Regions from separate parts of the Homo sapiens genome. Here regions 1, 2, 4, 5, 6 and 7 are each linked to region 3. Evidence: promoter capture Hi-C in 16 types of primary human blood cells and fetal thymus (Javierre and others, 2016). All regions are on one chromosome and are shown on one strand. Each heading gives the region's core, a stretch centred on a gene start or on the middle of the fragment in contact. The rest is flanking DNA. Distances are from core to core; before and after follow the strand shown.

Region 1 (4,041 bases), core at 173-2,672, 430 kb before region 3:
CCCAGCCTTTCTCCTTTCCTTTTAGATTCTTCTAGTTTGTTATCTATATTCAATCCATTTCTACAGAAGCTTTGATACTGCCCAGTGGAACCAGTCTTATAAATATTTTACTCTTAAGACTTTTCAACAGAGAAAAAAGCCCTTAATCACAGTCCTTGCAAGAGGCAGGTGCTGCCTGTTTTCTTTTTAACCAATTAGTGAAAACAGCTGCAGGCTTTTGATGGGATGACCCAGAGAGGCTGTTGTAAGCGTTGCATTGGCAGAGGAACGCCACAGCATGAAGGCAGGGAAAGTGCTACAAAACTAGATGTGTAAGGGTATCTCTGGCTTTTTCTTTTGTTTGGCTTTATATTCCTGTGAATTAGGTAGAAGCAAGGTGTTGTCTCCATTTCAAAGATGTGGAAAATGAGTATAACGAAGATGCTGATCAGGAAGAAGGTAAGATCCCACAGCATAGCAGCAGGGTGATGTGATGTGGGTGAACAGGAGATGGGATGCCTTTTTCCCCATCTGGGTGCTGCACTTGAGCAGTATGAACTGGTGCCAGTTGTTCCGCTTCCCTTGACCTCAAATGCCTTCATCTTTAAAACAAAAGGTCAAGCCAGGCCGGAGGCAGTGGCTCATGCCTGTAGCCCCAGTACACTGGGGGGCCGAGGTGGGCAGATTACTTGAAGCCAGGAGTTTGAGACCAGCCTGGGTAACATGGTGAAACCCCGTCTCTAGAAAAAATACAAAAATTAGTCGGTCGTGGTGACACGCAACTATAATCCCAGGTGCTCAGGAGGCTGAGGTGGGAGAATCATTTGAGCAAGGGGAGGTGAAGGCTGCCTGAGCAGTGATTGTGCCACTGTACTTCAGCCTGGGTAACGCAGTGAGACCCTGTCTCAAAAAAAAAAAAAAAACAAGCTAGGTAAATTTCTACTATTTCTAAGGTCCCATTCAACCTTACAACAACTGGATTCTACCCAAATTATTCCATAATCTTGTACTCCTTTTATATGACCCCTCATTTTACAGACATTTTTTTGACTCCTTATGATGTTATAATTTCCTCAGCTCTCCCCTCTTGTTCAAGATGCCGTTTGTTGAATTAAAACACGCTTCCTGAACCAAGAAACCAGGATTTCACCCATTAACCTACCCATATCTTTATTCAGAACTTACTTATTTTTCCCAGTACATTGCTCTTAACTTTTTTTCACCTGCAGAAATAGTTTCCTCACTCTTATTTACCCTTACTAAGTTTAACTACACTTTCTACTTTTTGTTTCAAACGGTTTTCGCATGAAGCTATTTGAACTACTTTGGGAAGCTAGAAGCAATTTGTCATTAAAATCAGGCCCAGAACTTGAAATAAGTTGGACAAGGAGAATCATGACAAGTAGCCTAACAGTGAGATGCGATCCTGTTTGCTTTACTTTCACGTTGCCTTTCTGAAGTCTGATGAGAATGTGGGGGTGAATTATCCAAACTGAGTAATAGCGAGAAGTGCTACAAAGAGTAAGGGGGCCCTTAGAGAAGTTTCTTTCAGTGTCCAGTTTTCGCAAAACGATATTTAAAAATTTTTATTGCTGATCTCCTAATATTAGGAAAGTCAAGGAGCTAGGCTCTACTGCCTATAGGAGATAATGTGCCTTTTATTGCAATTGTTCTTATCTCACTAGGTATACACTTACTAGACTGATGTTCTGTTTTTGTTTTTTTTTTTTTTTGAGATGGAGTCTTGTTCTGTTGCCCAGGCTGGAGTGCAGGGGGTGCATCTCGGCTCACTGCAGCCTCCACCTCATGGGTTCAAGTGATTCTCCTCCCTCAGCCTCCCAAGTAGATGGGATTACAGGTGCCCACCACCATGCCTGGCTAATTTTTATATTTTTAGTAGAGACAGGATTTCGCCATGTTGGCCAGGCTAGTCTTGAACTCCTGACCTCAGGTAATCCACCTGCCTTGGCTTCCCAAAGTGCTGGGATTACAGGCGTGAGCTACTGTGCCCAGCCTAGACTGATGTTCTTTTTGCCATGGGGTACAATTGGCTCCACCTTCAATCTGTGTACAGCTGAGAGGACAGTGAGATGGGAGAAATGAAGAATTCACTGCTAGTAAATTCTCCACAAATACTATGCTCACATTTTTAAGTAGCTAGGTACTGATTGTTTTTAACAGAGTTATAACAGAATATCACGTAGGTCAAATGCTACCTATTTCTCATGTATCCTTTGACTTAGAGTTGTCCCTCCATCTACTTGGAAGATTGATCACCCATATACCCAAATCCTCTCATACCCAAGTCCCACAGGAGGCTCTGGGAATCCACTTACAGGAAAAGTTGAAAAGTCAACCCTTCATATGTGCAGGTTTCACATCTCATGAAGACTGCATTTTCCATCTTCTTTTGGTTGAAAACATATTGTATAGGTGAACCCATACAGTTCAAACGTGGGTTGTCTGAGGTGGATCATTTTTAATCTGGCACAGATTATTTTTTGTAGATTTTTCCCCAAGTTACTCAAAAGAAAAGAATGGTCATCCTCAGTATAAGGTTGTTTTTTTGTTTGTTTGTTTGTTTTGGTGAAGATCATTTTTGCACAGATGTGGCAGTTAGAGAGTTTGTCTTGAGGTTAAGACAAGACAAAAGAGAATCAGTTGAGGTAGGTTGTAAAGGATGAAAGCCTTCGCTTCTGCTGGTTTTGTGTAATAGGTGCTTATTTCAGCACATAGATACTGAGATAATGTCCAAGAGAAGTGATTACTATCCTCCCTGAAAATGTTAAAGCTTTAAAGAGATTCATTTTTCAAGACCAATTTAGATTGAATTTGTAGGTTGCTTATTTGAATATTACAATCTGAAACACTCTCATTCCCTGAGTGACCAGCAGTGGTAACATTTTTTATGGTCATGAGAACCAGTGGCTTGAAAGAGTCCGTGTTAAAAGATCTCTTTGAATCTTACTCGTGCTCCTGTTACTCGTGTTCATATTTAAATGGTCACTGCTGGCTTTCATTCAAAATTGTTTCAGGTCTAGCTATTACTATTAGACTGAACCTGGGGGATAAAGTCCTTGGTTACAGTCTGTAAACAAGAGTCTCCTCTTTCTAAATAGAGATCTCCAACTAAACTACACATTTCATGGAGGTGGAAGGCAGGGCTATCTTCATTCTTATGTCCTCACAGCCTCATTCATTGTTGGTGCTCATTTATGACATTGGATGAAGAAGTCTTCTTAATAGAAGTCATGCTTCATAAATGAAGGAGAATGGTAGGGGCAAACTGGAAAACCTTGATGTGTTTGAGCCCAGAGGATTCCGTGTCTCTTCTGTGTTAGATAGATAGGCCAGCTAGGTTTACTGGAATTTTTGCTTGATTTTTCTTTCCTCTCTCTCCATTTTTTCCTAAGAAAACTTGTAGATTTTTCCCCAAGTTATGCAAAAGAAAAGAACAGTCATCCTCAGTATAAGGTTGTTGTTTTTTGTTTGTTTGTTTGTTTTTGGTGATGTTTGTCTTCTGTGTCATTTAAGAGGATAAAGTATACTTCACATCCCAGTTAAAGACCACCAATGAACTGGGCTGAAACCTTTGCACCTCGCTGTGTGTGGTCTTCTATTCGGGAAGGAAGTGGAGCCTCTGGGCTTTCGAAGAGTGGTTGAGAGTGTGGATGCTGGAGCCTGCCTGCATGGATTCACATTATACTTCCACCATCCACTGTTTCTGTGGACTGGCAAGACTTTTAATCTTCTGTGCCTCGGTTCTCTAGCAGGAAAAAGAGAATAATAATAATAACAACTCATAATATGGTTGTTATCTGTATTAAGTGAGTTAATATGTGTGGAGCACCTAAAATTGTGCTTGGCACATGGTCAACCCTCAAATCTTAGATGATGTTATTCCCCACTTACTAGCTGTGTTAAGTTTGGCAAGTTACCTTCTCTCAGCTATGGTTGCTTACCTTTAAAAATGGGCCTAATAATACCTTACTTACCTAGAGCCAAGGGGATGAAATCAGATAATCTCCTGGGACCAAAGACTTGACCCACTTCCCATGAAAT
Region 2 (3,961 bases), core at 1,063-3,562, 390 kb before region 3:
TATTGAGGAAAACTAATACAACTGTCAAGGTTCTGCCACTGTGTGGATTTGTGGTTTCTAGTTACAAACAGGTCCTCCATCCCTAGCGTGTGTTCCTAGTCTACACGCGACTCTCAACAGCTGCTATTTCAAGTATTTTCCATCTCCCTCAGAACATCTAGTTCTCTCTCTCTCTCCCTTTACCCTGAGCATTTGACCTCATTTAAAAGCCATAAAGAGGCTTCAGAGTATGGTAGAAAATATATTAGAAAGGTCAGGAGACCTGTGCTCTGCTGAACAGCCATGTGATTTTTTTTTTCCTTGTGTGTTCATAAAATGTGTTTCCACCTGCATATGGAGCTGAGATTCTCTATGCTATAAATCGAATGAGTCAGTTTATTTGGGTATTCATTTCTTAGTTTCTTTATGTATTTTGAGGAAGGGGGTTAGTCTAAGTGACCTCTGAGACTCTGTCCTTAAGATTCTGATTTTTATGGTATTATTTAAGTGTATTTCTTCAAATCAGCTTCAATTTGCAGATAGATATTACTTCTGACAATGTCATTTCTTAGGTGAAACATTCTTACTTGTCACAGAAACCAGGAAGTTGTGTTCTTTTTGTGGTGGCAAATTTATCTGTTTTCTATTTTATTATTTTCAAACTAGTGAAAATGACTTGTTGTTTGGACTAGCGTCGGATCAATAGGAGGGAGGGAGCATTTGAAGAAACTTAAGAAGTATTTTGTTTCTGTATTAGAGTTAATCAAGAGTTTGCCTTGAGCCTCAGACTGGGGCATCTGGGGAAGAAGAATGTGTTTTCTGACCAGGTTCTACCCCAGAGATTGGATAGGGCACGTGGCCAGCAGCCCCTTGAGGTTTGCTACCAGATGAAACCGAACATTTCTATGAAATGAGCTGATATCCTTCACATGCTGCCCAGATGGTGCATTTCAAAAATGATCTCACAGATTATCTTGAGTTTTGCCAGTAAAGTGGGATTTCCAAAAGTATCTTGCCTTTTTAAAAATTTTTATTTATTTATTTATTTTTATTTTTATTTTTATTTTTTCCTCTGTAGTTCTTTATATGTTTTTTCCAGCATTTGAGCATTATTTCCAGTTGCTAGAATTTCAGGGCAACTTGTGTAGGGTAAGGAAGAACCCAGTTCCTTTATATTAGCTCTTGGCTCACTGCAAAGTTCACTTTTGTGGCCTTATCAACTTGGATAGCAGAGAGCTTGGAGTGAGAGTCAAATGTAGGAGCTTACTTTTTATAATCTATATACACGTGTCACTTTCTGGCCTTCCCCAGGTGTCACTGTTTGGGGATAACTTACAAATGCAGTTCTTGACTTTGGATGTCTATCAGAGTCACCTGGAAAGCTTTTAAAAATTCCAGCTCCTAACACGCATCTCATGCCAATTAAGTCTATGTCTAGGGCTGGAATCCAGACATAAGTAAATTTTAAACCTCCCCAGGTGATTGTAATATGTAGTCAATGTTTAAAGCCACTGGAATAAACGCTTTATGGGGGTAGGGATTAAATAGGCTGGCTCATGGAGAAATTTTGACTTGCCCAAGTGAGCTGGTTGCTTCTCCAGTTCATCTTTTCTCATTTTGATGCTAGTAACACTGTAGCGGGATCACAGGTGGTGAGATGTGGATGACTGATTTTCAGAAGCCTGTTAGTACAACCTTTGAGCAGCAACTGTATTTTGGCTGTGAATCAGTGTGTGCTTTTCTTCATATGCTCTTGTCTGTCATATTTCTAACCCTCTACAAGAAGGGACAACAGGTGCTGTGTATGTATATTCGTGTGTGTGTGTTGTCTCCATTTCATTTGTTCTTTTATTGTTTATCCCGTTCACTTTGAACACTAGATCGTTTCTCACTGTATCAGTTATGAGAAAGTCGGTTATCAGGAAAGATCAGATTACTTGGGGGAAAAACAAAGCTAAAACTACTACCATAAAGCAACAACAAAACCCCAGAAGATTTGAAAAGGGCACGTTAAACTGAAATGTCTAAAACTAGTGTTTCTGGCTGTCCGTGATTCTAGTTGGCTCTGTTTCCACCTGTGTGCAAATGTAGTCCCCAATTTCTTTAAATTCCTGGCCCATTGCATACAGTTCTCACTAAGAATACTTAAGAGTTCCTAGAGTTGCCAGATAAAACACAAGATGTGAACTGAGTGAATGAGTAATTACTTAGTATATTTCAAATATTGAATGGGACACACTTATACTAAAAAATTATCTGTTATTATTCTGAAGTTTACATTTAACTGAGCACCCTGTACTTTTATTTTCTAAATTAAAATAGAAAATAGGTATAGCTCATATCTCCTGGCACCCTGTGGAGGTATGGGCTAGGCTTCTGGACTAGAAGACCAGAGTGCTGTCCGTATTTTCTGGCCTGTGTACTCTTGATGTGAGCTTACCTCTTCCCATATTTCTATAGGAAGCTGTTTCTTAGTTTTCTATTCCAAACTTTTGCATTAAAAAAAAAATATGTCTGTTAGGCTTTCTTGTCTTTAGTGTTAGGATTGAGAGATGCAGATTTAAAAACAGCACCCCCACACTCCACACAAATTCAGATCTTAAATTTTGAATGGTAGGAGCAATGCAAAATAGGACCTTATTCTTAGAGGCAGTAAGCCCAGTGACAGCTGCAATATGTTACATATTTTGGAGTACTTTTCCACCACGTGGGAAATGCAAGTGTCCTGTCTCCCTTAGAAACCTGGGCAGGTAGCCTGGCCTCCTGGGTACTTGTCTGGCCTGGTTTACTAGAAAATTCCACTCTCTGTCGAGTTAAATCTGGCTGACTTTCACCTGCCTCTTAAGAGACTGACCTTCACCTCTCTCTCCTGAGGTTCATTTTGTCAGCTTTAAATAAAAGGCTCTGTCAGTTACTGAGTCAAAGCACAAGCTAAGGACAGAGATTCTTCTACCATTTTCAGTCAAGTCAACCAATGCTTATATATGCATTATATAATCATGATATAAAATCATATATGTATTATATGAGGAATATGCTTTTTCTTACAAGTACTTTATATATTGTTTGAGTGTACATTCTGTTTGAGGTAGGCAATTTTTTCCTCACTGATTATAAGGCTAAACCTAGTCTTATAAACAGAAGTGTGTGTGTGTGTGTGTGTGTGTGTGTGAAAATTTGGACGTATCCTCTAATGTTTATAAAGAAGGATCCTGAATAATTTCAAACAAATAGAATAAAGTAGAGTTAGTATTTATATATTAACCATCTATACTTAAGCTTTTTATCATATTTTCTTTAGATTTTTAAAACCAGTGTTGAGGCCCCTTTTGTTACCTCCCTTTATTCAATTTCTCTGCCTCTTTCCCCAGAGATGATTAACTCTCCCAGCATTCATGTGTGGCTACCACCATGCAGAACTCTGTGGGTTGCTGTTTACAATCAACCTCTGTGTGTGTGTGTGTGTGTGTGTGTGTGTGTGTGTGTATGCCTAAGCAATATATAGCATGGGTTTTTTAAACCCCATTCAGATGCTGTCACAGTGTAAGTTTTGAGAGCCATATCATTGTAAACATTACCAGTTTTATCTCTTCTTTTCCAATTCTTACATCTCTTTTCTTAGCACATTATCTCACGCCTCTAGTTTAATGTAGGAAAATGTGGGTAATGGTGTGCATTTTAAATCGTGCCTCCTGAAGTTTTCCCGTTACTTTCAAAGTTTGTTGAAAGTTCTTGAAAGATATTCTGAATCTGATTCTCTTCTATTCTAACTTAGCTAAGAAGATTTTTTTCTTTTTAAAATCAAAGAATGATGTGGAGCCTTATCTGTGTCATTCTGTATCATTTTGAGATTTTGAGATACAATAGGTTTTCTCCATTAGTATGTTAATGTGAGATACCACTGATAAATTTTCAGATAATATATAGTTCCTACATTCTTAGAACAAACGCCGCATAATTGCTTTGTTGGTTGGTTGGGTTT
Region 3 (3,611 bases), core at 1,028-3,527:
GAAGAAAGGGAAAACCATGAGAAAGTAGAGTCTCTTAAAAATTAGCTTCCTCCTCTGAAAAAAATAGGATAATAAAGGCATCTACTTATAAGGTTGTTGTGAGAAGTGTGCAAATATATTATTTAAAATGCTAACGGAAACTTCAAACCATCAGAACACAGTAAATACCTTCAATGCTCTGGGGGCCCACAAGATTCATGGCCTGGTGAGCTGGATATTCCACTCGGGGCCTGGCAATGCCCAATTGCTCCATAACACCATGAAGCAGCCTCTGGATATCTGCTTCTGAGACCCGGTCAGGGGTCCGGGGGCTGTAAGCAAATGCTGGAGTCCATCCAGATGCCAGCCAAAACAGTAGGCCAGATAGCATGGTAGAGACCATCCTGGAGACCATTGTCAACCTGCAGATAAAAGACCAAATGTATACTGATAGGCTACAATCGGCAATTGTGATAATACAATTATAATGATGCAACCACTCCAGGTTGTGGTTCGAGGACCACCCAGAAAGGGGTTGTAACAAAGAATCCTTAGGAGGTTGCTTTTGTCTTAAGTTTCCATGCTAGGCAGAGCATCATTGCAGAAAGGTATTAAACAAAACAGTTGCAGGTATCCAATTCCCTCTGTTTGCATTCTTGAGAAAGCTAGGCTGGAATGGCGGTTCTCACTCATAATTTTTATCCTCCTTGTAGCTCCCTGAAAGTTCTGCATTACTCCTAACTTCATCACTCTCTCCCTCTCTTACTAAAACAAATAAACCAAACTTGCTTACATTTTGAGAAAGAGATAGTGGCATCTTGGGTTTTCCCAGTCTCTGGGAATAAAAGTCTAACAGGAGGGAGTCAGGAAGACACAAATCAAGAAGCTCAGGAAGGTTGGGAGTGGTGGCAGGGAAACATTTCAGTTTAGCAAACATCCAATACGTTTGCGATCCTGAAAGGAAGGAAAATGTTCCTTAGATCCAGCCCTGCAATCTGCTGGGGTAGTTTGAGGTTTGTTTGCTCAGCCACATGCTGAGTGATCGTAGGCAAGTCCCTCAGTTTCCTCCTCTGCAAAACGGAGATAATTAAAGCATTTACCTTTTAGGGTTGTTGTGAGGGTGTGTGCAAATACATGTTAAGAGTGTTTAGGACAATGCCAGGCACAGAATGAGCCCCTATATTGCTATTATTATGTTGCTAACATTGCCTTAACAGTTCTGGAGGTTAGAATATGGGGAGGCAGTGGTGGTGAGAGGGAGTTAACTAGCCTGGGGGTGGGAGGGTCAACCTGTCCAAAATGTTGGTTTCTATGGGTATGTCTGCAAAACAAGTGAACATTATCCTTGCAGCTTACCCCACAGCTGCTTAACGTGTTTGGATGCATGCTTCAGGCAGCGGCCTTGCAAACCCTTTTTTTTTTTTTTTTTTTTTTTTTTTGAGACGGAGTTTCACTCTTGTTGCCCAGGCTGGAGTGCAGTGGCGCCATCTCGACTCACTGCAACCTCCACCTCCCAGGTTCAAGTGATTCTCCTGCCTCAGCCTCCCGAGTAGCTGGAATTACAGGCGCCCACAACCAAACCCGGCTAATTTTTGTATTTTTAATAGAGGCAGGGTTTCACCATATTGGTCAGGCTGGTCTCGAACTCCTGACCTCAGGTGATCCACCCCCTCCCCTCAGCCTCCCAAAGCGCTAGGATTACAGGCGTGAGCCACCAGGACCGGCGCAAACCCTCCTTCTAATCATTCTTCTACTGAGGATGGGGGATGGAGAGGTGGGAGGAGGCAAAATCGTGCATTTCCTTTACTGAAACAAAAATTTTTATACCCTCCAATTTCTTTTTCTGCAAAGAAAAGGCCTTTTCTAGCCACTAGATATAAAACCTTGCTCTCCAAAGAGCTGAGAGTAGCTGTTTAACAGCAAAATCTGCAATTCTGATGGAAAAGGCTGGAGGCAGACACGAGGCTCTCCATCTCCATCTTTCCCTTGTCCACTCTGAATGCAGGATGTCATCCCAGCAAACGCCGCTCTGATTTGATGAACTACACAATCTCCTCCCTCAGTACTCCCTTCCCCTTACTGATAGCCAAACATTCTAATCCCCTACGCATCCTTCGTCTGACCCCAGCCTCCACCTCAAGGATTTTAGCAGGACGCCCTCCCACAACTGGCAATACCAAATCTCGGGTTGGCGGCAGGCGGCCGAGCCGACATCAAAACTGTACTCACCGAGGGGCAGCCCGAGGAGCCTACTGCGGTATGGGCCTTGGTGGGGGTCAGGCCAGGAACGGGCGAACTGGAGAGCTAGTGCGTCACCCTCCTCCGCATCTTAGCTCCGCCCCGGCCCCTCCTCCAGCAGGTGGAAGCTGCCTCGCCAGGACTCCCCAGACTGCATCCCAGATAAGTGTGCCTCTCACCAGGAGCCGCACAGCTCTTCAACCCCCACATTCTGCATACAAACCTCTTGACTATGACATTTCCTAGAGACCCTCTTCAGCTCCATCGACCTCCATGTAAGTCATTCACCTCCTCAGTCTCAATTACAACGTGCCAGATCACCACTACAGCACACCTTTAATTTTGTCAACTTCTAGAATATGTTTTTTGTTTTTGTGTCTAAAGCCTTTCAGCTTCAAGAGGGAAGAGGCAATGAATGGTAGAGAGACAAAAGATGAAGTCCTAAGAACTTTTAATGGTGGCTATGATAAGGTATACCCTGCTCTGAGGGGCCTCTTACTAATCAGGAAAACTATGGGGATATTTAATACAAGAAGCCAGAAACTTCCATTAAAGTGATAAACTTGAAAATCTGTAGAAATATCAGCTCTGAGTGTTATTTCTAAACGTCCACACAAACCATCAAGTAAAATTCCACTTTGGCCTGAAGAGAAACCATACTCCCAGCATACTGTAGAAGTATGTCCAGGTAGTCCCAGATTCTTAAATAAGGGTTTATGGAGCACCTACTATGTGCAATCTTGAACACTGAAATTTGTTCAAATACTAAAATCAAAATGTAAAGCCATACAATAAATATGGCACTACAAATTTGATCAAGATGGAGGATGAGTAAAGAACCTGGGGGTCTCAAAACAAGTAACCTGATGAGGTTAGAATCCAGATCTATTTATCTTAGCTCTAGAGAGCAAATCCATTATCATCTACAGCAATTTTTATGCAATAAATAGAGGCTGGCAAAATTCATTTATGAGACACATGGCCTTTCATTTTGAAGCCAAGCCTCTTTCCCAGTACTTTTTCTTTCACGGATGCTCATCTGCTTCTTGCTTCTTGTTTCAATGCATGCTAAATCAACAGGACAAACACTATCCATTAAATGGCTCTAGGCTCACTGGCCATGCTGGAGTTAGTATTTATTATTGATGCACAGAGACTTTTTTCAATTCTGAGTTTTACTTTAGCTTTGTTCATTGTTATCTTCATTTTGTGGTTGAAAAAAATGAAGTCACTACAATTTACTGCTTTTGTGTTAAATTTAACTGAAATAGATCAAAATGCCTATGCTTCATTTGAAATTTGGTGTTTCAAAAATAAAACTTCATATATATTTAAGAGATCACAGAGGTTAGGTGCAGTGGCTCACGCCCATAATCCCAACACTTTGGGAGGCC
Region 4 (3,658 bases), core at 424-2,923, 500 kb before region 3:
CAATGATGAAATGATGCTACAAAGAATAGCTCACAATGAGTTGTTTATTCGATGTGGATTTGCTGATTTGTTCTTGATTAAAGCTGCTACATTTGCTGCTTGTTTTTTAAGGCACTTACTTATATAGCATCTTTATCGATATTTTATTGTTTTGTGTAGGTTAATATTGGATTTCTCTTTTTTTTTTTTTTTTTTTCAGACGGAGTCTAGCTCTGTCGCCCAGGCTGGAGTGCAGTGGCGCAATCTCGGCTCACTGCAAGTTCCGCCTCCCGGGTTCATGCCATTCTCCTGCCTCAGCCTCCCGAGTAGCCTGGGACTACAGGCACCTGCCACCACGCCCGGCTAATTTTTTGTATTTTTACTGGAGATGGGGGTTTCACCGTGTTAGCCAGGATGGTCTTGATCTCCTGACCTCATGATCCGCCCACCTCGGCCTCCCAAAGTGCTGGGATTACAGGAGTGAGCCACCATGCCCGGCCTAATATTGGATTTCTACCTAATTTGCATTAATAAAAAAACTTGAGGGCAGAGATCGTATAGGATACCTCTGAGGTACTCCCCACAGTGTCTAGCTTCAAACTGGCTCACTCGGTAGCCTTTGAATTAAATCAGGGTTTTAAAATTTTCTAAATTAAATCAAGTCAGAAAGGAATTGGAATGGTATGTCTGACTACTAATGTCATTTCAGTGTGAAATCTTAAAGGATGAAAGAGCAAAAGAAAAGAAAAACAAAGGTCCCCTTTCTTCCTCCCAATCATTTCTGAATCACGTGAAGTCACATTTTCTCTCTTCAAAGTGTTCTCAATTTCTGCATCTAATAGTAATTTTGTCCCTACTGATTTCCATATCATATTTCTATCAAGGCGATAGGTTTTGGACCTCAAGACATATTATCTGCCTCTCATCTGTATTTTTATAATATTAACTCAGCGATTCTTCTGTGATAAAGAACTTAATCTTTAGCTCTTATCAAGCTTTTGAATGTAGGACCTTATCTTTTACTTTGGATGCATGCTTTGCAGTTTCATAAACAGTAAATTAATAGGTACTGATTCTTTTAAGAAAATTATGATTGTTGACTTTAATTAAAAACAACCTTCCAACTTACAGTGATAAGGCAGTGGCTGCAAGCGACAAATTGTCCTTAGGAGTAATCAGACAGGATGATTGGGAATTCCTGCAGCTGACATGCCACCCAGCAGAGTAAAATGGGTTTGCCTTGCTTTGTTCTTGGTGTCCCATCTTCATTTGGAACCTGTTTCTGCTAGTGATAGAACACTTCAAAATGGAAACAGATGTCTCTTTATTTTTGGTTTTTAAAAAAATCTCTCCTCAAAGATAGCAATGGTATCACATTCATCATTGTATACCTGGGTCAGTTACTGAAACTGACCAATGACATATACTCAGTAAGTGTTCTATTGAATGAATGAATAAATGGATGGATTAATGATGAGATAACTTAGTCTGAAAACTGGTAACAGGGACACATTTTTCACATTTTTCCTATGTTAAACAATGAAACTGGTTTCATGTCATATCATGTGATTATTATCAATGTTAGATGCTGTTACCCTATTTTGCTAGAAAATGCTTTTTTTATTTTTAACTAACCTTGAAACTATTCATCTCTGCATGGGTTTGGGAATCTAAATGTACTCAGAGATGTGAGTAGAATTAAATGGAACTTGGGTACTCAAAGTCAAACCTTTGGGGAACAAAGAAACTGATCTTTTAAATGGAATAACTTTACAACATATGATTGGCTTTACCAGAACAGACAGCTTTACATTTTTAAATGAGATTTAACTTCATTGTAAAATCCAGTTACTGAGGGGCAGTCAAGTGATCAAACTTGAAACAGAAACCAGAGGCGGTTTAATGTTTCATGTACTTCACTGGTCACAGATTAACCATGTTGCATTATCCATGATCAAAGGACAGCACGTCTGAACCAAGGTACATTTTATAGCCCAACACATTGGTGAACTAGAAGGCCAGGCAGGGACCTGTAACTCTTGTAGGCTGTGATTCAGGGAGTTCTGCAAGGCTCACCAGCTGGGTGCCTAATGCCCACCATGGAAGTTTCCCTTCTGTGTAAGCACTGTTGCTAGAAAACTTGTGTATAATGCAAATGTAAGTTGAGGTCATGTGATTGGTTTCCAAAAGCTATGTACAAAACTCACTGTAAGTCATTATATTAATATGCTGAAAAAATTCCTGCTATTAATATTACCTAGCAGAGCAAGATCTTTACAGATGGGTTATGGGATGGGTTTCTGAGAGTGGAAGTAGAAGTCAGGGTATCATTGGCATGCCACAAGCCTCATCGCTGCTCTCTGCCCTCATGGGATTTTCTTTTTAAAAGCTTTTTGGCATCCTGTATCAAATTTAGAGAAAAATTGAAACAGCGAGAGGTGTTAGGTGACAGAATCACAGCTTGTTAAATTTTCCTAAGTTAAATGGAACAAGATTAAACTCAAGAGGATAATGGAAAAATCCTGCATTGAGATTAAACTATCCACTTACAGGTAAAGGACATCAGGGACCTCAGTTTCTGTTTTAGCTGACAGCATATTGATTTTGAGCCAGTTGGGTAATGTATAGCTGTTGAGAACAAAAAGTCAGGCTACATTAGAAATAGATATTCATATCAAGGGAGAAAATGTGCTTCTGTACTTTATAGAGTCTGATGAATCTGGAGTTGTTGGTATAGTTATAGGTACATATTTGAAGGGCATTATTGACAGATTAGATTACGTGTTGGTGACCAGAATGGAAACATATCTGAAAATTATTTCATGGGGAAAAGAGTTATACTAAACAGCGTAGCCCATGTATCACAATGTCAAAGTGATACATGAGCAAGTTGGTATAGTGTATGCTGTGTGCGCCACCCAGATCCCCCTTGCAAGACTAACACCCTGTTCTCTCCGCTGCTGGGAGCATTGCCAGCCAAAGGCTTACAGCTGAGTGCCTCCCCAGGAACTGCCCTCTCCAAATGGGAGCTACCTCTGCCATTTTGAGGTTCCATCTGAAGTGTCATTTGCAGAGGGCAGTTCCTGGGGAGGTACTCAGCTGCAAGGGGGGAGGTACTCCCAAGATTACACCTTCTTCTCAAGCGCAGGCCTGACCAATGACTTATCTGTGTGTGAGAGTACGGAAGCTCAGCACCATTGCCTTTTGTAGGGCAGTTCTGAAGGGCCATCCCAGTCTCCATGCTCCCTACATTATCACCTGAGGCCTCTGTCAAAATTGCATCTTCTCCAATCCTGCTTCCCTCACTTTCCCATAGGTATTGCTCCAAAGAGCACTCTCCACTAAACCTTCTGCATGGAATCTCTTTTCAGGGTCTATTTTCCAGGGGATCCTACCCGTGATGGGTGACGTTATGTTACCCATAACAGCTCCCATTATTTGTAATGGGAGAGGATAAATTATTTGATGAATGATGCTAGGACAATTAGTTATCCCTATGGGGAAAAAAAACAGTTGGATGTACCTTATGCCATGCACAAAAATCTATTTCAGGTGGATTTTGAACTGAAATGTGAAAAGGAAAACTTAACAGCTTTTAGAAGAAAATATGGAAGGATTAGGAAAGGGTTTCTTAAAGGCACAAAACATAATGAAGATTACTGGTGAATTTGTCTATATT
Region 5 (3,726 bases), core at 668-3,167, 480 kb before region 3:
AAAGGCCAAATGGAGGAAGCAATGTGCTGATGTTGGAGTGAGGAATTCATGGAAGGGACGTTCATGTCTTGGAAAACTTAATCTGTGTTAAAACATGCATTCTATAAAATAGCTAGCTGTTTGATCAACAACCCTCACTATATAACCTGTACCCCCATACCATATGTTAGACTTAATTTTTCCTCAATATTCTTGGTTTTAGGGTGAAATAGATTCTAGGCCTTGTATTTATCTTTTGAGGACATATTTATTACTTAATATGCTATGATACTACTTTGGGGAACTATTGCCACAGATAGTGAGTCTTAGCTTAGTGCCATGTATTCATTCAACAAACATTGTTTGAACCAAGTCTGTATACTATATAGTGCAGTAGGCTTTGAATGCCAGATTCAGGAGTATTTACCTAATTCAGTAGATGGTGAAAAGCTATGGAAGGCCTTTGAGCAAAGGAGTGACATGACCCCAGTTTTGATTTGGAAAGATTAAGCAGCAGAGTGGACAGAAATAAGTTAGAAAAAGGAAGGCCAGTTGGTGATCCCCAGTTGATGGGGACTTGAATTGGGCCTGGAAATAAGTGGATGGATGTGAAAACATTGCGCAAATAGATCCACAAGGCTTGACGATATGACGTTGAAAGAAAGGCATTCTAGATGATTCTACAATTTGGGCTTTAGTTATAAGGATGTGGAGATGCTGTAAACCTATTTAGTTGTGTGAACATGGTCAGATTACTTAACCTCTCTCGGCCTGTCTTTTTATTTGTGACATTAATTACCTAGCAGGATATTGTTAGGCCATGTATATATAAAGCATTTAGCTCACTGCCTGGCACATAGTACATGCTGCATAGATGTTGGTTTGCTTTATCAAGATTGGATAGCCTATACTATGTCAATCTCTTTCTATTCCTATATATAAGAAATATTCCAGTTCCCTCTTCTTTCAGATTATGTAACAGAATAATGGCAGCAATCTGTTGCCGTGGTCAATCTTTGTTGACACACATCATTAGCTTTTTGAAGGAGCAAACCTGGAGTAGGATAGGCCAGCATGTGCCAATTTAGTGTTCCTAGATTTGACACAAACTCCAAGTTTTCTCTCTCACATTGTACCTGTCACTAGTGGCCATTAGATTTTATTACTGCTGCATTAGCTAGTGGTACTGTTTAGAAGGTGATGTCAGAATATTGGCCTGGTTGTTTATCCTGTTGCATTTTAAATACTTGGGACATCTAGAAGGTATACATGAAATGTACTGTGGGCTGAGCAGTAAAAGGATGAGCCAATGTGTACTGTCTAAAGCCAATACTAATTTTATAAAACCTACTCTGACCTACCTTACTTTCCCACCAGGCATGTACTTTTTGGGAGAAAATTGTTTAATACATGCCTGGGTTAAAAAATTTTCTTCTTTTAAAGCACAATTACATGGTTACTTGAATTTGCGGAACACAACAACGTTTTACGGAGTAGAAACACAAAATTGGAATATGACAAGAATAAATAAGACTTAGCTTATTCACTTTTTTTGGTGACTATAGGTCAGAGTTTTCAATCTTTTAGGTTTCACCTAAGAACATTGCACTTAATTCCGTGGACAAGGGATAATTTGTTTCACTGTGTAGTTAACTGTAAAAGTTCCCAGGCCCTTTCCTGCACTTCCAGAGTAGTATTCTTTATTTGTCTGTTCTTTGTCTATTGGCCTGACTGTATTGTGCTCCTTGAAAGTAGAGATCGTGTCCTCTTCATATTGTTTGCTTGCAGTACACTTTTGGTAAATGAATAAATGAATTAATTGGTAACACAATGAGAGAGACCTAATTAAGTTCTAGATTTTTCTTATTGTGGCTCTAAGTCTACTGCTTTCTTTTTGTTTTCAAATTCCTAAAATTCAAACAAACAGAAAAACAAAAATTTGGCCGGGTGTGGTGGCTCACGCCTATAATCCTAGCACTTTGGGAGGCTGAGGCAGGCGGATCACTTGAGGGGTCAGGAGATTGAGACCATCCTGGCCAACATGGTGAAATCTTGTCTCTACTAAACATACAAAAAGAAGCTGGGCATGGTGGCTGACACCTGTAATCCCAGCTACTCAGGAGGCTGAGGCACGAGAATCAGTTGAACCCGGGAGGTGGAGGTTGCAGTGAGCCAAGATTGCGCCACTGCACTCTACCCTGGCGACAGAGCAAGACTATCTAAAAAACAAAACAAACAAAACAAAACCAACTTGTCAACTATGTACTTTACTGGGAAATGGTGTAATAGACAAATGATTTCTACCTTTGTATCATATAGAACTACATGTAATACTGGAAATGAGGGAATGAGTTTCTCCCTTTGTGCTCTCAATTTATAGACAGTCCAGAACATTGTAAACAATATTGACACTGGCATTGAATGTGACCCTGAATCCGCCATGTGGTCTGAGGGAGCAGAGGTACAAAGTAATTGGTCATTGTGGTATTGAAACTCAGAATCAGGCATATGATGAAGTTTTATTTGCAGAATACTTTTTGTTTCAAGACACAGGACCCACTGCTCTATTGATAAAAGGCAAGAGTTTAATTTTTTGTTGTTGTTGATCTAAGTCCTTGGAGAAAGTAGACTGTAAATCATAGATGGGGTATTGTATACTCTTGTTACAACATCATCTAGCCAACCTTTCATCTGTCCCATGTGGAAGGTTCTCCAGTTTACATTTTTGGGTTATATGAATGAAGGCAGAGTACTATCCTATAATTAAGACTAAAACCTCTATCAAGAAGCAATGGGAGGAAAAGAGGTGAATTTACTTTGCATCCAAGATGATGGGCTTACTGTACTATAAGTAGTTCAGTGTATAGTGCAACAGGTATATTTTCAGAAGAAAGAGTCCTGGAGAGCTTGTAAAAAAATGGAAAGTAGATTCAAAAGAAATACTTTTAAAAATACATAAACATGCAAGAATGTTCATAGGATTAAAAAAACCAAATGTGCAGTAAAAGGGTAATAGGTAGAATAAATTTTTCCATATCTTATATATATGTCTGTAAAATGGGTATGTAGTCACTTAAAAGAATGATGTAGATATATATGAACTGACACACCAATGATCCAGGAATACCAGAACACGAAAAGACAACAAAAGCTGCCGAACAGTATCTTGGTATCACTACGTGTGTGTTCGTATATCCCCACATAAAAAAATAGTAATCTCTGGGGTTGGCGACATGAGGTTTTCTCATTTTTTGGATTATACAATTCCTTGTTGCTGGAATGTCCACCAATAAACATGCACTAGATGGCTAACTTTGAACATGTCTTCCCTGCCGGTGTGTAGGAAAAGTGCAGTAGCTAACCACTCTGTAAACACTATGGGCACAACTGGTAACCTAATCCATTGACCTGGAAGATGATGATGGCCCTTGGAAAGGGTCAGCAAGGAGAATAAAGTGACTGGAGTTAGCACATCTGCTATCTTTAGCAGGGTGTGCCAAGTTTTGTAAACAAATTATTTTGTAATTGCCTTATGTTTAATGTTCTTCAAAGCCGTAGAGCAAAAGAACAGATTATTTCTGAGAAGTGAAAAACAATTTTCATTTCACTATGCTGCTCTCCATTGGTCACTTGGGTATGTCCTTGGAAATAGATGTCAGAGTCCTGAATCAAACTGTGCCTTTAACTAACATTGTAACCTCAAATTGAGTCATTTAATTGCTAATCTCTTAGTTTCCCCACCTGTTA
Region 6 (3,747 bases), core at 1,163-3,662, 410 kb before region 3:
TGGCTGAGGAGAGAGTCCATTCAGATGGTTGCAGGGGTTGGAGGGCTTCAAATTTTATTTTTGGTTTACAACTATAACTCTGTAATCAGTTATGATACCCTGCTAGAATGTGTCCTTGTTCCTTGGTTACTCTCAGCTCTTTGTATTTCCATGTAAGATACAAGTAGCTAGAACTGATCTATGAATAATTAGGCAATATAGAGTTTTAAATAACTGAGACATAAAAGCTTTCACCAAAAACTGTTGGAAAGAATTTCAGCCTGCATTTTCCGGAAGCTGTGATTGGCTTTATGTCTGCCTCATGGTGGGATCCCTCATTTCTTCAACTCCTTTTTGATGTTTGCAAAGTGTTTAGTTTTCTTTCTCTCTACCTAATCTATTGCGACCATTTCATGTAGAAGAGGAGGGAAAGGGTAATTGGGTTTGATAAACAGATTGCTCTTGCTTCTCAGTATGAAATAGTATAGATGGATGCAACATTGTTAAGATCATGCCTTTCTTTTCTTACAGGAACCAGTTTTTACATCCTGAAAGTTTTTTTGCGGAAGGGCACCTTTACTTGATCCAAACCCATGTAAAAATGAAATGATGCCATAGTCATAGTTGAGGACTTAATAAATATAAGAATATTTAGATGAAAAAAATCTAACCTTTTAATTTACAGGATTGTAGAAATACTCTTAAAGAACATCTTGGTGAGATGGTGGAGTGTAAGCAGAAATGTATATTTAGTTGTACAGTAGGAAATATATTTTTGGTCTTTGTCTCTATTTCCAGGCACAGATCTCCTAAAACCCTTTGAATTTCCTGAGAAATAGGAGTAATATGTGGATTTTTTATTATTCAATGAGCCCATTTCAACTGTACTTGAGTTTATGCAAATGAGATGACTCCTGGTAAGGCCCCTAGAAAGTTTCAGGATGGGGGTTGGACACCGGAAGGTTCACATCTTCGTTAGAGGGTTGGATTTTTTAGCACCTCCTCAACTCTCAGGGAGAGGAGAGGCACTGGAGATTGAGTTCATTCACCAGTGTCCAGTGATTTACTTACTCAATCATGCCTACGTAGTGAAATCTACATTAAAAACTCCGAAAGAAAGAAAAGAAAAGGAAAAAAGAAAACAAAGAAAGGAAAGAACGCTAAACCATAGCATCTGGAGAGTTTCTGAGTTAACGAACACATCCTCACGTTGGAAAAGTAGCATGCCTCAGCTCCACAGGGGCAGAGACTCCCTTTACTGGAGACCCTTCTGGACTTCACCTATACCTCTCCATTTGGCAGCTCATTTGTATTCTTTATAATACATTATAACAATACAGACAGCATTTTTTTTTTAGGTCTGTGAGTCTTTTCCAGGAAATTATCAAACTTGAGATGGGGAGTATTGTGGGAACACCGAAGTTTGTAGCCAAGTTAGTCAGATGTATGGATATTCTGAGGACCCAGTACTTGCTATTGGCCTCCAAAATGAGGGCAGTCTTGTTGAAGCAGGATTCTTCTTGGCCCCTTTCCCGAACTTGCAGCAGGGGCACCCCGTCTACTCGGCATGCTGCACTCAGCCCCTTGTGGGAGTGAGCACATGAGTGAACGAGTGCAGGGTTTGGCTGGCAGCTCCAAGTGCCAACATAGGAGCAACTTCTGTGCAGTGCCCATTGCCAGACCAGGCATGTTACCTCAAGGGGAATGTGGCAATGCCCAGGCAGGGGTGCCTGCGACCCCAAAGCCCCAGAGGGAATGTTAGTGTGCTAATTAGTTTTTTTAGTTCTGCTGTCTGCAGCCGGGTGGATGGTGGTGTGTTAGCAGCCCAGTCAGCAGTTGGCTGGCGTCCACCAGTGAGGGCAAAGGCCTAGTTCTACAGCCTTTCAGAGTACCTGCACTCAGTGGGTCCCAAGCTCTTGTCCAGCGTTCAAGAAGAATGAGGTCACACTGACGATTGAAGGGTGATGAGAGTGGAGGATTTTATTGAACAATGGAACAACTTTCAGCAGAGAAGGGACTGTGGGGAGTGGGGGATGATCCCACACCCCCACAGTCAGGTGGTTTCTCTGCCTGTGGTTGGGTCTGGGGCATTTTATGGACTCACAATGGGTAGTGCATGCTGATTGGTTTGTGAATATGCAAAAAAGGTTAAAGTAAAGACACCACTCAAAGGTGGGCATGACAGTGTAGAAAACCAATTAGAAAAGGGTAGGTGTATATAAAATAGGGGAAGGGTGGGGATCAATCAGAGGAAAACGCATCAAATGGGAAGATAAGTTCTCAGTCTGGTCCAAGGATTTAACTTACAGCTTGGCTTTCAGGCTTTAAACTGTCTTTAGCTTTGAGGTGGGGTTTCACCAGGGATCCACCCTTATCTGCCTAGGTATTTGGCTGCCTCCTGTCACTATCATTGTGGGGCTGAGCCTGTAAACCTGGAGTCTGATGCTAACTCTGGTGTCAGAATTGAATTGAATTGAATTGAATTGTAGGACACCCAGTTGACATCAGAGAATTGGTGTTGCTATTGGAGAATTGGTTGGTGTCAGAAAAAGACATCAGACAGGTGAAGTAACTGTTTTCCTTTTTGTGTATTTGTTTAAGTCTTTGATTCCATGCACGTGTATTTGCATGGTTGTGTCCATGCTGAACCCAGCATTTTTATCGAGTTCCTTTTTATCCTATCAATGTTTTCCATGTTTTTTCTGTAGTCTTCCTAGTAACCATTTTTAGTGGCTACATGCTGATGATAATTTTAATAAAATATTTTAAATCAAGTATTTTCAGACATTTCAGTTGGGAAACTAGAATCTCAAGGCTAAGACACCAGCATAGTTATGTATAGTATTCATGTGTTCTTTGAACTGGAAGGAACCTTGGAGAATATCAGGTTTAGCTCTCTCCTTATTACAGAGAAATAGATGTCCAGAAAGGTTATCACATTTGCTAATTAGTGATAGTGTTAGCATCGGCCTCAATTCTTTCCTCCTCAGAAGAAAGAATTTGACCAAGGGACATAAGGCAGCAGAGTGAGAGACGAAGGCAAGTTTTAGAGCAGGAGTGAAAGTTGATTAAAAAACTTTAGAGCTGGAACAAAAGGAAGTAAAATACACTTAGAACAGGGCCAAGTGGGTTACTTGAGAGATCAAGTGCAGTGTTTGACCTTTGACTTGGGGTTTTATATGTTGGTATGCTTCCGGGGTCTTGCGTCCTTCTCCCCGGATTCCTCCCTTGGAGTGGGCTATCAGCATGTGCAGTGGCCTGCCAGCACTTGGGAGGGGCTGCATGTACAGTGTGTTTATTGGAGTTGTACACGTGCTCACTTGAGGCATTTTTCCCTAACCAGTCAAGCGTTTCTAGAGGAAGGTCATATACCAGCTAAAAACTCTGCTGTTTTGCCTCTTCATGCCCATGCTTGAGCCCACTCACCCAACTCCTGAGATCTTACTAGGAAGCTGCTGATCACCAGTTTCAGGTGTTTATATCTATTGGGAGACTGCCTTTCTCTGGCACCAGGTGTGACCAATTATTAGAGCGGCACTGTCACAACCACCTATCACCTGATGGTTGCCCGACATCCTGGTGGTGGCAGGGGACCCTCTCCTGCCCTGCTCATGTCTGACTAGCTACCTACTGTAACAACAGAACCAGGACTAGAAAGTTGGTCTTCTGACTTCCAGTTTAGTTTTTTCTTTCCATTTTTAATGTGGCCCCCATTTCTTTCAGCCCAGCCATAATTCACCTTAACCTTTCCCAGACTGTTTTATTCAA
Region 7 (4,039 bases), core at 960-3,459, 450 kb before region 3:
TCAATCACATTTAATAGTAAATGTGCCTTCTTTTTTTTTTTTTGGTATTTACCTTGTTACGTATATTCCTTTTTGTGAGTTTGCTAGGATCATTTCTTTTTGGAAAGGAAGTTTTTAAAAAAATCATTTATTATATATTTCATAATCCAGGGCTTAGTATTTTGTAATTTTTTCTCTACTTTACTTCCTTAGCTATTAAGACAACCAGTAATTACATCATATGTCTTCAAGAGTTGGATTTCCCACTGGTGCAACCATCCTCATAATAATTGGAATAATGTGACATAAAAGGGAAAATGTTATTCAAATTTACTTGTAATGAATGCCATATGACTTTTTTTTGCATTCTTATTCTTCAATAATATTTTTGGGGCCAGGCACAATGACTTATGCCTGTAATCGCAACACTTTGAGAGGCCAAGGTGGTAGGATCACTTGAGGCAACACAGCAAGAGTCTATCTCTACAAAAAAAAATTAAAAACTAGCCTTGTGTGGTGGTGCACACCTGTTGTCCCAGCTACTTGGGAGGCCGAGGCAGGAGGATTGCTGAGCACAGGAGGCCAAGGCTACAGTGAGTTGTAATCATACCACTGCACTCCAGCCTGGGTGACACAGTGAGACTCCATCTCAAAAATATATATACATGTTTTTTGTTAACAAGCAAGTATATTCTTTCTTTTTTCTTTTTGTTTTTTTTGAGACAGTCTTACTCTGTTGCCCAGGCTGGAGTGCAGTGGCACAATCTCGGCTCACTGCAACCTCTGCCTCCCGGGTTCAAGCAATTCTTGTGCCTCAGCCTTCCAAGTAGCTGGGATTACAGGCACCACCCACCACACCCAGTTACTTTTTGTATTTTCAGTAGAGATGGGGTTTTGCCATGTTGGCCAGGCTGGTCTCAAACTCCTGACCTCTAGTGATCTGCCCACCTCAGCTTCCCAAAGTGCTGGAATTACAGGGGTGGGCCACTGCACCCGGTCATATTCTTTATAACCAAACATACTAAAATTTTTTGATCACTTAAGTATTTGAAGTACTAACATCTAATGTTTTGAGCATTTATTATCTGGGAGTAGACGGAGGCTTTTAATGTCTCAGTGAATCCTACAATCTCCTAAATTTGTTCTTTCCTTGATCTTTTCTGCATCAGGACTTACCTAGGTGCTCTATCCATTGTTAGCATCATCTGTGCCCCTGTTTTTCAAGTGTTAAAATATCCAGTGTAACTATGGCCACACATAAGTTTCCTAGTCTGAGTAATACACATCCCTCAACTAGTATTCTTCACAGGAGAAAACCGTGGAAGGAGGTTAATAAAATAATCAAAGAGATATTTATATACTTCCTTAAAATGCTATTTCATTTAAAGGCATGACTATAAATAGTTCCATTCATGGCTCTAGGCTCCTATGTTTGACTTTCTGGGAAGGAGTATCATAGGGTATCTATGAACGACCCTGAGGAGCTGTTGTTTCCAGAGATGATCAGCCACTTACTTGGAGCTGTTGCATTTGATGACGTGAATTCTATTTTTGGAACATGAACAGATTTAGGATCTGCTGCACTGCAGTGCAACTGAATTCTTATAAGCTTTATTGTTATTCTCCTTATCTTCTCTGACAAAAGAAAAATAGCCTTTCACATGACTGTGTGATGTTGGATATGCCCTCATTGTATATAGAGTTCTTTACTTAAAACAGGAAATTACTTGCTTCTCCCATCAAATCTATCTATCCCCCAGCCCAGGAAAAGTCTTCTGAAAGAAAATAATTGTGAGCCTAGTTCAATATCAGACATATTCTTATTATCTTCATTTTATTGATGAGGGAAAAAGACTCAGGGAGTTTTGGTAACTTCACCAAGGTCAAATAATTAGTAAAGGTCACAGCCAGGAATTTAGCCCACATGTTAAAGCCCTGTACCCACGCTCTTAACTTGTTCACGTCTGCTTCTCTCTTAGCCCTCAATATTCTCATCTGGAGACTGGCAATAATATCTTTCTCTAAATAGCATAAAGAACTTAGATTTTAGTTCTGCCTTTGCTGCTAGCTGGGCATGTTGGAAATACTGCAATCTTCATGGGTTTTGGTTCTCTCAACTATAAAATGAGCATGTAGGTGGGGAGATATACAAGATTCTTTCCAACTGTAAATTTGTTTTATTTTATTTGAATTTAAGCATGATTTTAGAAATGCAAACTACATTGCAGTTGCCTGATGGCTATGGATGCTTTCCTCATCAATGTTCAGACTTACAGAGCTTGCTCCCCACTCTCTGCTACTTTTTGATTTGCCATCAGCCTTTCTCTGCCTGGCCACACCTTCCGCCTGTCCATCTTTGCTCATTCATCATTTCTCTCCCCACATACTTCCCAGTGAGGAGTTAGAGGCTGGGGTGGATAGATACCACACCTTCTCAGAATTGTATCTACCTAGGTGGTTTGGTGACATTGTGTCATTTAACACTGCTGAGAATGAAAATGGGGGCAGTTGCATTAGTGAGCATTGATCTCTAATTGACAGATACCAGCCATGAGACTATACTTTTGCCACAGCTCTGTCTTCTTAGATACAGACATGAGTGATTACACACACAGCCACACATCCACTCCACAAGCACTTAGCAGTGTCACTTTCCATTAGCTGTACATCTAGATTGCTGTCTTTCTTGCTGGTAAGTACACGTTTGAATAACATAATGGAAGATATGTCTACCTGTACATATCAGTTCTGATATTCACGGCTGAGAAAACTTTACCTCTTAGGGTTTATTTTATGTAGTGCCTTGGGCACTACAACACAGGAGCTAAAACTGAGGAGAGTTTTAAGCTTAGGGTTTTTGTTTTTTCTCTCCTCTTTCTGGATGCATAACCACTTCGTCATTGCTGTCAAGTGAGGGCTTGGTATGATGGGAGAATTAGAGGAAACAGCTTAAAAGGCACTGTAATTTTGTCCCTTAGGGACTTTTGTCCAGATCTGCTGGTTATATAGTATGTTCACAGACTTCCTTTAGGAAATTGGTATATTTTTATATGTATATTCTTAGACGATTAAAGACAATATCTGGTAAATAACTTTTTAATAAAATGTAGTTTGTGCATGAATCTTGGTATGAATGAGTAAATGGGTGTGCCATGAGTTTTTCACTTGATTTTTCAGATCCTTGCAGTGCATTGAATAATTTTTTTCAGTACAAGTTACAAAACAAAAACACTGTTGTGTTTAAGCCCTCAGCTGAAAAGGTTTAATGTCTTTAATAATTACAGTGCTTCTAGTGGGAGCAGACATGATAGTGTATGAGGCAACTATTTCAACAAATAGGCCTCAAATCTCAGTGGCTTATAATAAATATGTATTGTTTTTACGTACTGGCCTGGGAGTTGGCTAAGGTTCACTCGATTGGGCCTGGGTTTGACTGAGCTTGGCTCCAGGCTTGCAGGACTGTGCCTGGGACAGATGTTCCACGTCTCATTCGAAGCTCCCGAGGACCATGTTCGTCTCATGGTGAGGGCAGAAGCACAGGGCGGGGCATGAAAACACACCGTGCGTCTTACAGCCTTAATTGGCACACTGTCACATTGTTTACATTCAGATGGCCAAAGGAAGTCACGTGGCAGGGGAAATAGACCAGAAAAGGCCGTGGGTGCGTGATCATATTGCAGGGAGGGAGTGAAACAGTGGGAACAATAATCCAATGTACCCCTGCTAGACAGACTGATTCTATTTTGGAAAGATGAGCTGTGGACACTGCCTCCTGTTTTAAATGGCATATTATTACCTTTGCATTCTGTCTGCTTCTGTTGTTTTGATAATTGACAGCAAAACCTCAGTCTGATGTTGTAGGTTAGCATCAGGAAGTGCAGCTCATCATGTGAATGGCTTTGAAAAGCACAGACTTTCAAAGTGGTTCCAAGGTAAGTCACCCTACCTTTACTGTGACTGTGCTGTACGTTGTATTAACCGTGGTCAGCTGTACAGATAACCTGTGTGTGTATGTGTGATCGATCAAACTGTTGAAATGTCTTTGAGGAACAAAATAACT

The links. The method cuts DNA at HindIII sites, captures the fragments that hold promoters and counts their contacts. A CHiCAGO score of 5 or more calls a contact.
Region 1: a fragment that was not itself captured here is called in contact with the fragment with the promoter of SCG5 in region 3 in 4 of 17 cell types (M0 macrophages, M1 macrophages, M2 macrophages and 1 more); the score reaches 8.6 in M0 macrophages.
Region 2: a contact is called between a fragment that was not itself captured here and the fragment with the promoter of SCG5 in region 3, in 3 of 17 cell types (M1 macrophages, M2 macrophages and M0 macrophages). The highest score is 9.2, in M1 macrophages.
Region 4: a contact is called between a fragment that was not itself captured here and the fragment with the promoter of SCG5 in region 3, in 1 of 17 cell types (M1 macrophages). The highest score is 6.4, in M1 macrophages.
Region 5: a fragment that was not itself captured here is called in contact with the fragment with the promoter of SCG5 in region 3 in 1 of 17 cell types (M2 macrophages); the score reaches 5.7 in M2 macrophages.
Region 6: a contact is called between a fragment that was not itself captured here and the fragment with the promoter of SCG5 in region 3, in 3 of 17 cell types (M1 macrophages, M2 macrophages and M0 macrophages). The highest score is 6.4, in M1 macrophages.
Region 7: a fragment that was not itself captured here is called in contact with the fragment with the promoter of SCG5 in region 3 in 2 of 17 cell types (M1 macrophages and M2 macrophages); the score reaches 5.6 in M1 macrophages.

What each region holds. Positions count from the first base shown.
Region 1 is chr15:33,070,594-33,074,634 of GRCh38, reverse strand. All of the region lies in intron 5 of FMN1 (formin 1), which reads left to right. It overlaps LOC124903459 (a long non-coding RNA gene), which reads right to left. Exons shown (of 2, transcript XR_007064574.1): 2 at 1-3,745. Among named protein-coding and RNA genes, the nearest start is that of FMN1, 120 kb to the left of the region's middle. The HindIII fragment of the contact is 2,701 bases long and covers 72-2,772 here.
Region 2 is chr15:33,025,601-33,029,561 of GRCh38, reverse strand. All of the region lies in intron 6 of FMN1 (formin 1), which reads left to right. Among named protein-coding and RNA genes, the nearest start is that of FMN1, 170 kb to the left of the region's middle. The HindIII fragment of the contact is 1,897 bases long and covers 1,364-3,260 here.
Region 3 is chr15:32,640,376-32,643,986 of GRCh38, reverse strand. It overlaps SCG5 (secretogranin V), which reads right to left and starts at 2,277. Exons shown (of 6, transcript NM_001144757.3): 1 at 2,209-2,277; 2 at 169-401. The coding sequence starts at 394. It overlaps ARHGAP11A-SCG5 (ARHGAP11A-SCG5 readthrough), which reads right to left. Exons shown (of 14, transcript NM_001368319.1): 10 at 169-401. RefSeq lists enhancers at 1,505-2,143, 2,144-2,784. The HindIII fragment of the contact is 7,166 bases long and covers 1-3,611 here.
Region 4 is chr15:33,141,176-33,144,833 of GRCh38, reverse strand. The region is part of intron 4 of FMN1 (formin 1); the gene reads left to right. Among named protein-coding and RNA genes, the nearest start is that of FMN1, 52 kb to the left of the region's middle. The HindIII fragment of the contact is 1,394 bases long and covers 977-2,370 here.
Region 5 is chr15:33,120,025-33,123,750 of GRCh38, reverse strand. All of the region lies in intron 4 of FMN1 (formin 1), which reads left to right. Among named protein-coding and RNA genes, the nearest start is that of FMN1, 73 kb to the left of the region's middle. The HindIII fragment of the contact is 5,184 bases long and covers 1-3,726 here.
Region 6 is chr15:33,051,263-33,055,009 of GRCh38, reverse strand. The region is part of intron 6 of FMN1 (formin 1); the gene reads left to right. Among named protein-coding and RNA genes, the nearest start is that of FMN1, 140 kb to the left of the region's middle. The HindIII fragment of the contact is 4,366 bases long and covers 230-3,747 here.
Region 7 is chr15:33,092,005-33,096,043 of GRCh38, reverse strand. All of the region lies in intron 4 of FMN1 (formin 1), which reads left to right. Among named protein-coding and RNA genes, the nearest start is that of FMN1, 100 kb to the left of the region's middle. The HindIII fragment of the contact is 1,238 bases long and covers 1,591-2,828 here.